Regions from separate parts of the Homo sapiens genome. Here all the other regions are linked to region 1. Evidence: promoter capture Hi-C in human tissues and cell types (Jung and others, 2019). All regions are on one chromosome and are shown on one strand. The core of a region is centred on a gene start or on the middle of the fragment in contact, and the rest is flanking DNA. Distances in the headings are between cores, read along the strand shown. Region 1 holds the start of AQP4 (aquaporin 4). Region 2 has its middle 60 kb from the start of AQP4-AS1. Region 3 holds the start of LOC105372035 (a long non-coding RNA gene).

Region 1 (3,477 bases), core at 383-2,882:
GTTTTCCAATTTGTAACAAACATTTTGCACCTTTTAAAAATCTCATTCTAAAATCCAAATGGTAAACAGCTTTAAGAATCAATATGAAATGTTTTAAGTGTTCTCTGTGGCTTCATATAAATTCTCCCTGCCCCTCTCATCAGAATTTATTCTGACTTTCAGGGAGCATATTAAAGGTAGAAACCACTGATGTACAATAATAAGTGTGCAACCATATTCTTAAGAATCTAAATTCAATCTTGGTTAGCTGAGAATGCTTGAAACAGTAATAAAGTGCTCCTCTGAAAGTCACACTCAAATTTTGAATTCCTCTTTCTAATGAGAGCTCTTCACCCATTCCCATGTCTCAAGTACGCAAATGAAAACAAAACAAAAAAACTGTAACTGGGATTTAAAAGTATAACAGTCTTTCTTCTCTCATGTATTTCTTTCTTGTCATACTTCATTCTGGAAAAAAATAATCCAATCTGAAATATAAAGTGGGAAAAGGGAGGCATCCGTAGGTAATGTGAGTTATTATCATTGTTCTAGATGTTGGGTTGAGTGGTGGGTTCATAGATGTTCATTACATTATTTAAAAGCCATTATAATTAACTATTAGAAAATAAGAGGGCCATACATGCACGAGTGATGACAGAGTGTCATAAATCAGGAATTCTGATTATTCCAATCCCATGCACCTAAGATCTGTTTAAAGAAAAAATAATAATGAGATGGTGATGCAGGTAGCTAATGGTTAGACCCTTCTAGAGTTCACCAAACTCCTTCGGCAGGGACGTCTTCATAAGCATGCAGCCTGCGCAGCTGCACAAGGTCCTGCCTTTAGGAGCACCCAGCCTTTATTTATGCTCTGCTGTCGCAATCTTGAAATTTAAATAGTGTTTTACCAAGGTGTCCTGCATTCATTTTGCACTGGGACCAGTAAATTATAAAATCAGTCCTGTCCCTAAGTTTCCAGAGGTTAAATTTACCTACAGTTCCCCATAATTTCGTCCCCATCCAACTTTGATATTTTTTAAGTTTGCTACTTCTTATCCCCAGATTATTAATGTAACAGTCAGGTGAGCACCCTAGAGCAGTCTTTTTTCCTGTATTTCCTATGTTTCCTTATTTTTATTGTCCAAATCAGTGCTGCCTGTGCTATAAATGGAGCTGCAGTTATATATTGTTCTTATAATGCTTCTTCTCAGATCAAAAACTTCAAACAGAATTCATTGGCTAAAAACTAAATGCACTGAAGTCTCTATCTAAATTCATGTTAACTGCTGGATTATACAAATTCATTTTCTAATAATTGCCCAATTTCAACTACAACATATAACCAAACAAGACAAATTCTGAACAATTCTTCATGGTAGAAAGAATTCAAATAAAGATTTAAGGAAATCCTCATTTTCAAAAATTACTGTCTCAAAAAAAAAAAAATTAAGTAAATGTTTTTGCATTCCTGAAATGCCCTGTGTCTACAGTGATCAGGTACAGAAAAGCTACTTCAAGTTCAAATATAACTTAGCGATTGCCACATGGTGCAGAATCTTTCCACCCCTAACACTCCAAAAACCCAATCAGACAAGTGGCCGTAATCTGACTCCCAGCACACAGGGAGCTGCGGGGCAGGCAATGAGAGCTGCACTCTGGCTGGGGAAGGCATGAGTGACAGACCCACAGCAAGGCGGTGGGGGTAAGTCCTTCTTTGCCTTAAGGGAACAACGCTTAGGGCCAAAAGATGAAACTGTCTCTTTTATTATAGATGTTTGTGCCTTCTTAGGCAGAATCTGGAAGGCAGCTATAGGGCAGGTGGGTGGTTCTTTTAGATCTGAGTACTGGGCATTTTCAGAAGAGAGGCATAGAGAAGGTAGAAGAAAAGGGATGCTTTTTAGCCAAATCCTCCATATGTTTCAGATCTGCAAAAGCCCAGGAAAATTACCCTATGGAGGTGAATCTAGCTATAGTACATTTCTTCGGAAAAATTACTCACCCAGACGCTCAGCTGTCCTGGAGTGGATGAAGCTGAGTGTTCAGCTAGAAAGTAATGTGTCCGATTCAGTACATCAACAAACCCGCTTTGTTCTGGGGCAAAAGAAGCAAATCTAATTGTGTTGATCATTTCCAGTGACTGTGAACATATAAGGGAACACTGACAATAAAAGCAGGGTGCTATGGGTGACGCTAGGGTGAGCCCTCATAAGGCCAGAGATATGTATATGCTGCCAGCAAACTTCACGGTTCACAGCCAAGTGAGGCTGGTCCATCTGCCTTGGAAGAAGATCAGATTTTTGTGGATTTAAAAAAAAAAAAAAGCTAAAAACATTCTTAAAGAGCATGTTTATGTTTTGTGTTGGTGTTTTGCACTGTTTTAAATTTCTCTGGTTGATGAATATTTGAAGCTGAAAGAGCAACTACCTCTGGAGAGGTAAACAGGTGCATGACAGGCCAAGCAGGGAGAGAACTCCGGAAATGGCAGAAGTGAGAGGTGAAGGGGGTGAGCAGCGGGGCTGGCCTTTTCTGGGTCCCACCTCTTCTGGTGTCTCCTGCGGGGCTGAAAAGGACGTTTCCTGCCCACCTAGCTTCCTTAGCCTACTGTTTTGTCCTCCTCCTTCTCCCCTAACCCTGACCACAAACGACAGCACCTATGATCGCATTTTGCCCCCTTTGCCATCCCGGCTACAGCCCTGGGCTGCCGGTGAGTTCAGAAGTGACTCTCCTAACTTCTTCAATATGTGACTTTTCTGAGTTTACCGTCTTTGGGAATATTTTTAGTGTCTCCTCCAGGGTGCCCTCCCTGCCCCATTGCAACCATCGTTTTTGTCTCTTTACATTCTTTTCCTCTAGAGAGTATGATGTCGTTGTCATCCCACCTGGGGTTTTTCATACTTCTGAGATTCGCTTCACTGGGGCAGGGGATGCGTGGGATGTGGCTGGCCACCCCCCTGTGGAGCCAGCTCTTCCTTTATCCTGCCACCCGGGCCTGGGCAAGAAAGGGTTTTTCTCTCTCCACCTCTAAAGCAAAGCCCCATAGCAAACTAAGGGCTAGGCTGAGCTGGAAATTCCCCTCACCCTTTTTGGCACTGCATTTCCTCACTACCCACGCAGAAAGCAGGTTCCCGGGAACATTCAGTGACATGGGGAAATGAGGGCCCCGCAATTTGTCAAAGGGAAAGCCACAATAATACTAATCTCTTAAAGTACTTGGCTTTCTTGCCTAACCCCTTACGTGGTCCTCTGCAATTAGATTCTCTGGTAAATACTCTCCATACTTCTTGGCTCTCATGACTATCACAGGCAAAGGACAAGGGCAAAAGTCTTAGATGATAGGGTAACTGGGGTAATTGCCCCCCCCCCCCAAAAGGGGAATCCTAGCCATTTCCTGCCAGAATGAGCAGTTGGCATCAATATCGTCAAACCACCCCTTCTCTGCTCCAAAGATCTAATGACAGCAAGAGGGATATAGACGGGAGGAGAAGGCGTCCTCCCTCT
Region 2 (3,477 bases), core at 286-2,785, 60 kb after region 1:
TGAAATCATGAAGGGTTTCTGTTTGCCATAGGAATGTTTTAACTGTAATGCAGCGTTTCAGTAGGGACACACCATTTATGCTGCAAGTGACACACACACACACACTCAAAAACCCTCAACTCGGACTAAATTAATAAAGGATATTTGTTGAATCGTAGCTGAGAAGGCTGGAGGAAGATGCGGTGAGTTTGGATCCAGCAACTGGAAAGATATTGCCCAGGGCTAAGTTCCATCTCTCGCCGTTGGGCTGACTTGCTCCTAAAGCTGCCTCACTCCAGATCTCACATTCTCAGGCTTCTTCAGGCAGAGGAAGGGAGGAGTCTCTTCCTATAGCGTTTGGAAGAAGTGCTACATTTTCCTTACCCAGAAACCCCAGCAAATAGCTCCTCAAGTCTCTATGGTCCTGATTTGTTACAGATCCTTCAATGAGCCAATCACAGGGCCAGAGCAGATGGGATGGTCCTGACATTGGCCAATCAGGGGCCACTCTGGAACCAGGGTAGGTTCAATCTTACCCAATCACACAGGGCTGAGAAGGAAGGAAGGTAGTTTCCCCAAAAGAAACTTGAAGTACTTTTAAGGAGAAAGGGAGATTGATGGCTAAAATATAAATACATTAATGTCTAACTAGACTGCCAAATACAAAGCAAACTCTGAGGGCTTTACTCTTACTTGCCAGTCTTGGCATCAGATCAATCGTAATTTTCATATCAGAACTTTTTTTAAAAACATGTTTATTTCATGGAACTTTCCAGAGTGAGGGGTGAGAGGGTAGAGATAGCAACCTAAAGCTGCCCTCATTATTCTAGCATTCTGGTATACTGGGGCAAAACATCAGAGACCCTGGGCATGAAATCTCAATTACCTCTTTGGAAAAAATAGAAACTAGTGGTCAGTCCCCGGAATACATAGATCAAAATTTTTTAATAATACTAATAGCTGACATTGGTTATGTGCTTGCTATGAGCCAGGCACTATCAGCCCATTACATGCATTAACTCATCTAATCCTCACAGCAACTCTAGGAAGTTGATCCTGTGATTGCCCTTATATTACATATGAGAAAACTGAGGCAGAGAGAAGTTACCTTATCCAAGGCCACACTCCTACGAAGCGGAAAGTCCAATATCTGAACCCAAGCTGTACCGCTAGAGGAAGAATAGGTCATGATTCAAGAGTCCAGGGCTTTATTCTGGAGTATAATTTGCCTGTTGGTGGAAAGGAACATTTCTGGATTTGATCATTGGTGCTGCTACTTAAATCTTCTCCAATCCAGCTTCAGGGGAATGCATTCCAAATTCCTAGAGTCGGAGAACTATAAAATACTAAAAATCCAAGGTCAGCCTCTTGCTGGGAGCCCAGCAAGAGTACCTTTTGCCATAGGAGTGATGGGCTCAACAAAATATTAATAACAGCAGGAGAGGCAGGGCCAGCGTGGGCAGCACAGGTGTCTCTTCTTTGGGTGAGAAATCAGAGTGAATAGTGCCAGGTATAATAAAAAGAAACTGTAATGGCCTCCAAGGAGAAGAGCCTGTGCTGCCAAAAACTGTCAGGAGTAGGATGGGGAATTCAGGGACTTCGCCCTTAGATTCTGCTGGGTGGAGGATCTGAAACCAAAGACTGTTATTGCCACCCTTATGATTGTAAACTGCACTTTGCAATTTGTCCCTCTAGCCGGTGTGACCTGAGAAAGTAAAGGTTACATATTATGGGACATAATTAAAGGAAAAGTATTACATTAGCAGATGCTGAGAGTCCTAGCAATTACCATGATTTCATTTTTTAGCTATTCTTTTCTACTTTTTGCCCAAACATTAGACGACAAGGATGGAATTCTAGAATGGCATTTGTTATAAAACACACCAGCCCATTACACTAATTCTCCTGACCCACTGGAAATGGAGCGAATACAAAAGACAGAGTCTTCAGTCCAAACCCAGTGCAGATTCTGACATGCACATGTGATGAAAATCCTACAGCTGAAAGAACTAAAGCAGCAGGGGCTAGCCAGCTCAGACACCACAGGAGGGCAAAGAGAAGCTGAATGAGCAGTCCATGCAGCTGAAGACCAAATGTTGAAACAGTGTCAAAGGTGCATTAAAATGCCTGCTGCTGGTTTCCATGCACATTGTCTTCTGCAAGCTTAAATGACTGAAAGAAAGATCCAGGAAAGGGACCAGGAATTTCTGCCTTGGTGTCCAGGCTCGCTTCCACCCAGCCTAAGTGACAGCTGGCTGCAGTGTGCCTGCCACCTAATGGTGACACCAGTTGCTTTTTTATTTAAGAGGCTGATTGCACTTTTCAAAAAATCTAAATTTCTTTCCTCACTCTAATTTAAGTGAAATGATAGGAGTATAAATTGCTTTGTTACAGTTCCAAACAGTAGCCCTGCTTGAATTTTTTATGGCTCTAATGAAGATCCTGAGTATCCTTTTAAATATTAAAATTCAGATTAAATATCAACTAGATGTAATGACAGCTTAAAAAACGTTATCAGTACATTGCTATGCTTAATGAATATAAAACACGAAAAAGGCTGGGCTTCATTTACTGTGCTCCTTCCAACCCAGGAATTTCAGCCTAAATTTCCCGACACCTTCATTTTCTCCCTGAGTCCTATGTTTTAGCTGTTAAATGGGGGTGCAGCAAAGAGTTTTAGAACCAAACATTAAAATTAACAACCCTTCTTTAAGAAACACATTTTCTGCACCATCATTTTCTCTGGCCACTTATTTCTTCTTTGCATTTTATGCACACGTCTCATCAAGATGTGTTATTTGAAGGCTGCGCCCCCAAGTATGCTCTCTCTACCCAGATCTTACATCAAAGAGGTGAATTGTTAAGGAATTTACACCACATTTGGAATCAGGGTAAAATTACCAGAGAAAACAAAGGGCTAAAAACCCAATATCACACTTCATCAGGAAAAGTAATGGAAGGTGGGTCTTCCTAAATCATTTGAAAAAAAAAAATACTGTTCTGATGGGACAGAAAAAGCAGTCTCCTGGTAGTCTGTGGTTCTGCAGCTCCACCCCTTGGCAGGTGCTAAAAGTAAATGATTTCTGCATGAGCCATCCTGGATTTTTTTTTTTACATTAGATGTGTATGTGTGTGTAAAAATTTTGGTTTGGGGGATATTTTAATCTGCTTGACTGTAGTGATCATTTCACTATGTATATGTATATCAAAACATCATGTTGTACATCTTAGATATATACAATAAAAATATATTAAAAATAAATTTTTAAAATATTAAGTTTGAGGACATGGAGGATAACCAAGAGGGTGACGGAGCTGGTTTTTGGCAAGGAATCATTGAAGCAAAACTGTGAAAGGAGACATAATGATATTTGCTTTCTATTATAGGATTATCTATGCAAATGCTTTAATAGCAATTGTAATGGCATTAAATTTGCTGCCTCAAAGTGGTGAGATGATGAGATTGAAGGACACAAAATCAAGCAATTTAACCATAAG
Region 3 (3,477 bases), core at 636-3,135, 41 kb after region 1:
TTCTCCTTCCTACATGTGAGACAATAGCTACTAATTTATCCTCCTTTCCCTGAATAAATATATTGTGATGGTAGAGGTATATCTGGTTACCAGCATGCAAGCTAATCTGTTAATAATACGGTACCTAAAAGTATTCATCTTTTTATTTTGCTCTTCTTCCCAGAAATTTAAGAGGCTAAAGGGAATATTATGTGCTTACGTTTCTCTAACTCAAAGTGCATAATACTGAATAATTCTTCCCAGTGACACTCTGAGAGAGTTACACATGTCTCCTAGTGAAAACCGGTTTGGAGAGCCAGATAGAACTGTACTTAAATCCAATCCCAGCTTTGCCACTTACCAGCTGTGGGAACTTCATCTTTCTAAACCTCATTTCTCTCCTTCACAGAAGAAGGATGATGAAATCACTAAAGCTATTGAGAGAATTAAAGGAAAGCACATATGCACCATCCCTTGTCCATAGCAAGTGCTCAGCGTTTTTATTATAGGTGACAAGTAGATACCTGATAAGTTGTTATAAAACATTTGTTCACCCTAATGGAAAGAAGAGTAAGGCAGCATGATGCAAAACTATAGAGTTTTGTGCTGAAAATGCCTTTTCTAATCATGAGGAGTCACTTCCACTAGAGCCGGAACAGCAGCTTCCGAGGGTCTGCAGACAGGGAAGTCGGTGGCACCCAGAGGGTCATCCCAGTGCGGATGGGGGAGTCTTCTACCCTTCCCAGAGGGTCACCCCAGTGTGGATGGGGGAGTCTTCTACCCTTCCTACAATAACCCCTGGAAATCTCCAAAAACACACAGCATTTCCAGAGTTTTCCCCAAAGTAAGAAATTGAAGAGAAAAAAAAAAACACCCTCTAAGGACAACAACCCACTCTCATTTGTTGGCGCCCTGAGGCATCTGACAACAATAACAACAACAACAAAAAAAAATAGCCATAGCCATCACCCCAGTTTGGAAACATTCTTCAACCACAGACCTGGCTCCAGGTTGCTTCTGAGGTCTCACAAAGTGACGGCTTTCTCTGAGCCCTTTCCTGGTAGTGATTTAGAATTCTGCAAACAATCTAGAATACAGGCCTCAGCCCTCTTCATCACTAACAATTCTGTTTTCACACTTATCCAGCCAAGTTGCGAGAGAAACCCCTGAAGTAGTCTAAAACACATATTCAGTTATCAAAATTTTTGGTCCTCAAGTCACTTTGATTTTACTAAAAGCAATCATTTGAAGGACATCTTGTCAGCTGGAATCCCAAACAAACAGACGAGCGTGAAACAGGAGTAAGTGATTTGAATTCTAACAGTTTTCCCTTGAAATAAGCTTTGTAGTAAAGGTTGTGATGACAAGAAAAGATAAAAGAGAGCAGAGCTGCAAATAGAGTTCAGGATGACTTAAAAATCAAGTATAAACATAAAATGCTAGGAGTTTAGCCAGATGAGCACGCAGGAAAATCTCAGCCCTCCCTTCTTTCATTAAGATTTCTATTTCATATACTCTGAAGGTTGATGTCAAAGGGTGAATAAGCACCGAGGAACCCCTTGGGAAAGGTTCAGAGGGCTCCTGGTCAAGGTTAGCCCTATCATTAGGCAAAAGAGGCAGTAGCCTAGAGCCAAAGAGTATTAGGAGCAATGAAAACGTGTAGTGACTGGATACCCTTTGGCTGACTTCAGGCTTGCAGGCATCACAACATTTTCCAGTGTACCTAGGGCAACAAAAGTCTTCATCTCCACCTCTCAATTCAATCCAGGACATACAGTACTGATTTCCAACATTAAATTACATTGAGGGTTTTTTACTATTGTTGAATATAGCTATTTCCCATTGCTTATAATGCATATCTCTTTTAGGAAAAAAGAACAGAAAAATAAACGTGAAAGAGCTACATAATGTGAGATACCATCTACTCAAAAGTGTTTTAATAAGCAGATTTTGTTGATTTATACATTTCTATTGCGTGAATAGATTCATTGGATCTGTAAAACAACACCGGATTTTAAGGGATTTTAAACTACATTTGCTTAAAGACACGGGGCATTATCCAAGGGCTGCCATTCTGTATGTTGATACAGCTGTTGACCTACCAGAACCTACATACTTGATGATAATAACTCAAAAACTGTCTCTTTACCAGCCTTTAATCAAGTAGGAAAGATTTGTTGGAGCTCTCACTGCCTTCTATAAAACCTGCTGTTTGGTACCCATGGAATACCAAATTCTCACAACTGCTAGGCCACTCGCTAGTGCTGTATATCCATACAATTCTGTCCCAGACCCTGCCTTGTATGCCTAGCAACATGTGAAGATTTCTATTTCTAAATCCAGTCATTCCAGTTGTACTTATTACTGTCATTATGCAGTCTCATTAAATATTATTAAAAGCAATTATTATGGATATGAAGAACAAAAGATCTACTTCCTCTACAAAAACCAAATCAAATGCATTGAAAAGAGACAATAAAGTCAGGTCACCTTAAAAATAAATACTGTCATCTTAAGTTTGACCAAGACAACCATAAAAGATTGAGGAAGGAAATCAGATCATTTAAAAATGGGAAGAATAGTGGTCTTAGATTGCTTTGTAAGTTTCTGTAAGTTCCTCCTTCACCTAAGAAACTGAAGCTTCACATGGCCAATGATGCTGTGTAGGTGTCACTTGTCTGTGAGAGCCAATGAAGAACATTAATCAGAAGAACCAAACTCAAGAACAAGGTCATTTCCTGCTTCACAAGGTTGGTGAATTGGTGTATAATTATGGGTTTCTATTTATTTATTTATTTATTTATTTATTTATTTATTTATTTATTTATTTTGAGATGGAGTCTTGCTCTGTAGCTCAGGCTGGAGTGCAGTGGCACGATCTCGGCTTACTGCCACCTCTGCCTCCCGGGTTCAAGTGATTCTCCTGTCTCAGTCTCCCAAGCAGCTGGGATTACCGGTGCCTGCCACCATGCCTGGCTAATTTTTTTGTATTTTTAGTAGAGATGGGGTTTCAACATGATAGTCAGACTGGTCTCGAACTCCTGACCTCAAGTGATCCACCCGCCTTGGCCTCCCAAAATGTTGGGATTACAGGCATGAGCCACAGCACATAAGATTTGTGTAAGCTATTTTTACGCTTCTGTACGTTAACTGACTTTTTTGATTGGGTGATCCACTAAGGGTTTTATTTTGGTCAAAGAAGAATAATTGCATTTTATTACACATGAAATGATATTTTGGGATGGTACTGAGGTAGTTTCTCCTTTTCTATTGTCAGGGCCATCTTTACTTTGAAAGATACAGAAAGACTGTGTATATCCTTGCTTGTGATCTTCCCAATCAGTAGCATCTGTTTCTAGGTCAGATGGCATACAAGTTCCTCCTCTGCTAAGAGTTACTGCTTTTGTGCCTCCCCAAAAAGATATAATAAAAATAAGATTGAATATGGTCTTTTAATCTTGGAGTCATAAAAGAAATGTTGAGGGGCAGGGGCTCAAA

Evidence for each region. The method cuts DNA at HindIII sites, captures the fragments that hold promoters and counts their contacts. A contact is called where the count stands out against the background at its distance.
Region 2: a contact is called between a fragment that was not itself captured here and the fragment with the promoter of AQP4 in region 1, in 1 of the 25 tissues and cell types used here (dorsolateral prefrontal cortex).
Region 3: a contact is called between a fragment that was not itself captured here and the fragment with the promoter of AQP4 in region 1, in 2 of the 25 tissues and cell types used here (adrenal gland and psoas muscle).

The regions. Positions count from the first base shown.
Region 1 is chr18:26,863,862-26,867,338 of GRCh38, reverse strand. AQP4 (aquaporin 4) reads left to right here and starts at 1,632. Exons shown (of 5, transcript NM_001650.7): 1 at 1,632-1,681. The coding sequence starts at 1,650. It overlaps AQP4-AS1 (AQP4 antisense RNA 1), which reads right to left and starts at 2,031. Exons shown (of 8, transcript NR_026908.1): 1 at 1,979-2,031. The HindIII fragment of the contact is 8,928 bases long and covers 1-3,477 here.
Region 2 is chr18:26,803,389-26,806,865 of GRCh38, reverse strand. No RefSeq gene overlaps it. Among named protein-coding and RNA genes, the nearest start is that of AQP4-AS1, 60 kb to the left of the region's middle. The HindIII fragment of the contact is 4,775 bases long and covers 1-3,477 here.
Region 3 is chr18:26,822,771-26,826,247 of GRCh38, reverse strand. LOC105372035 (a long non-coding RNA gene) reads left to right here and starts at 1,096. Exons shown (of 3, transcript NR_188008.1): 1 at 1,096-1,280; 2 at 1,848-2,729. The HindIII fragment of the contact is 3,839 bases long and covers 1-3,477 here.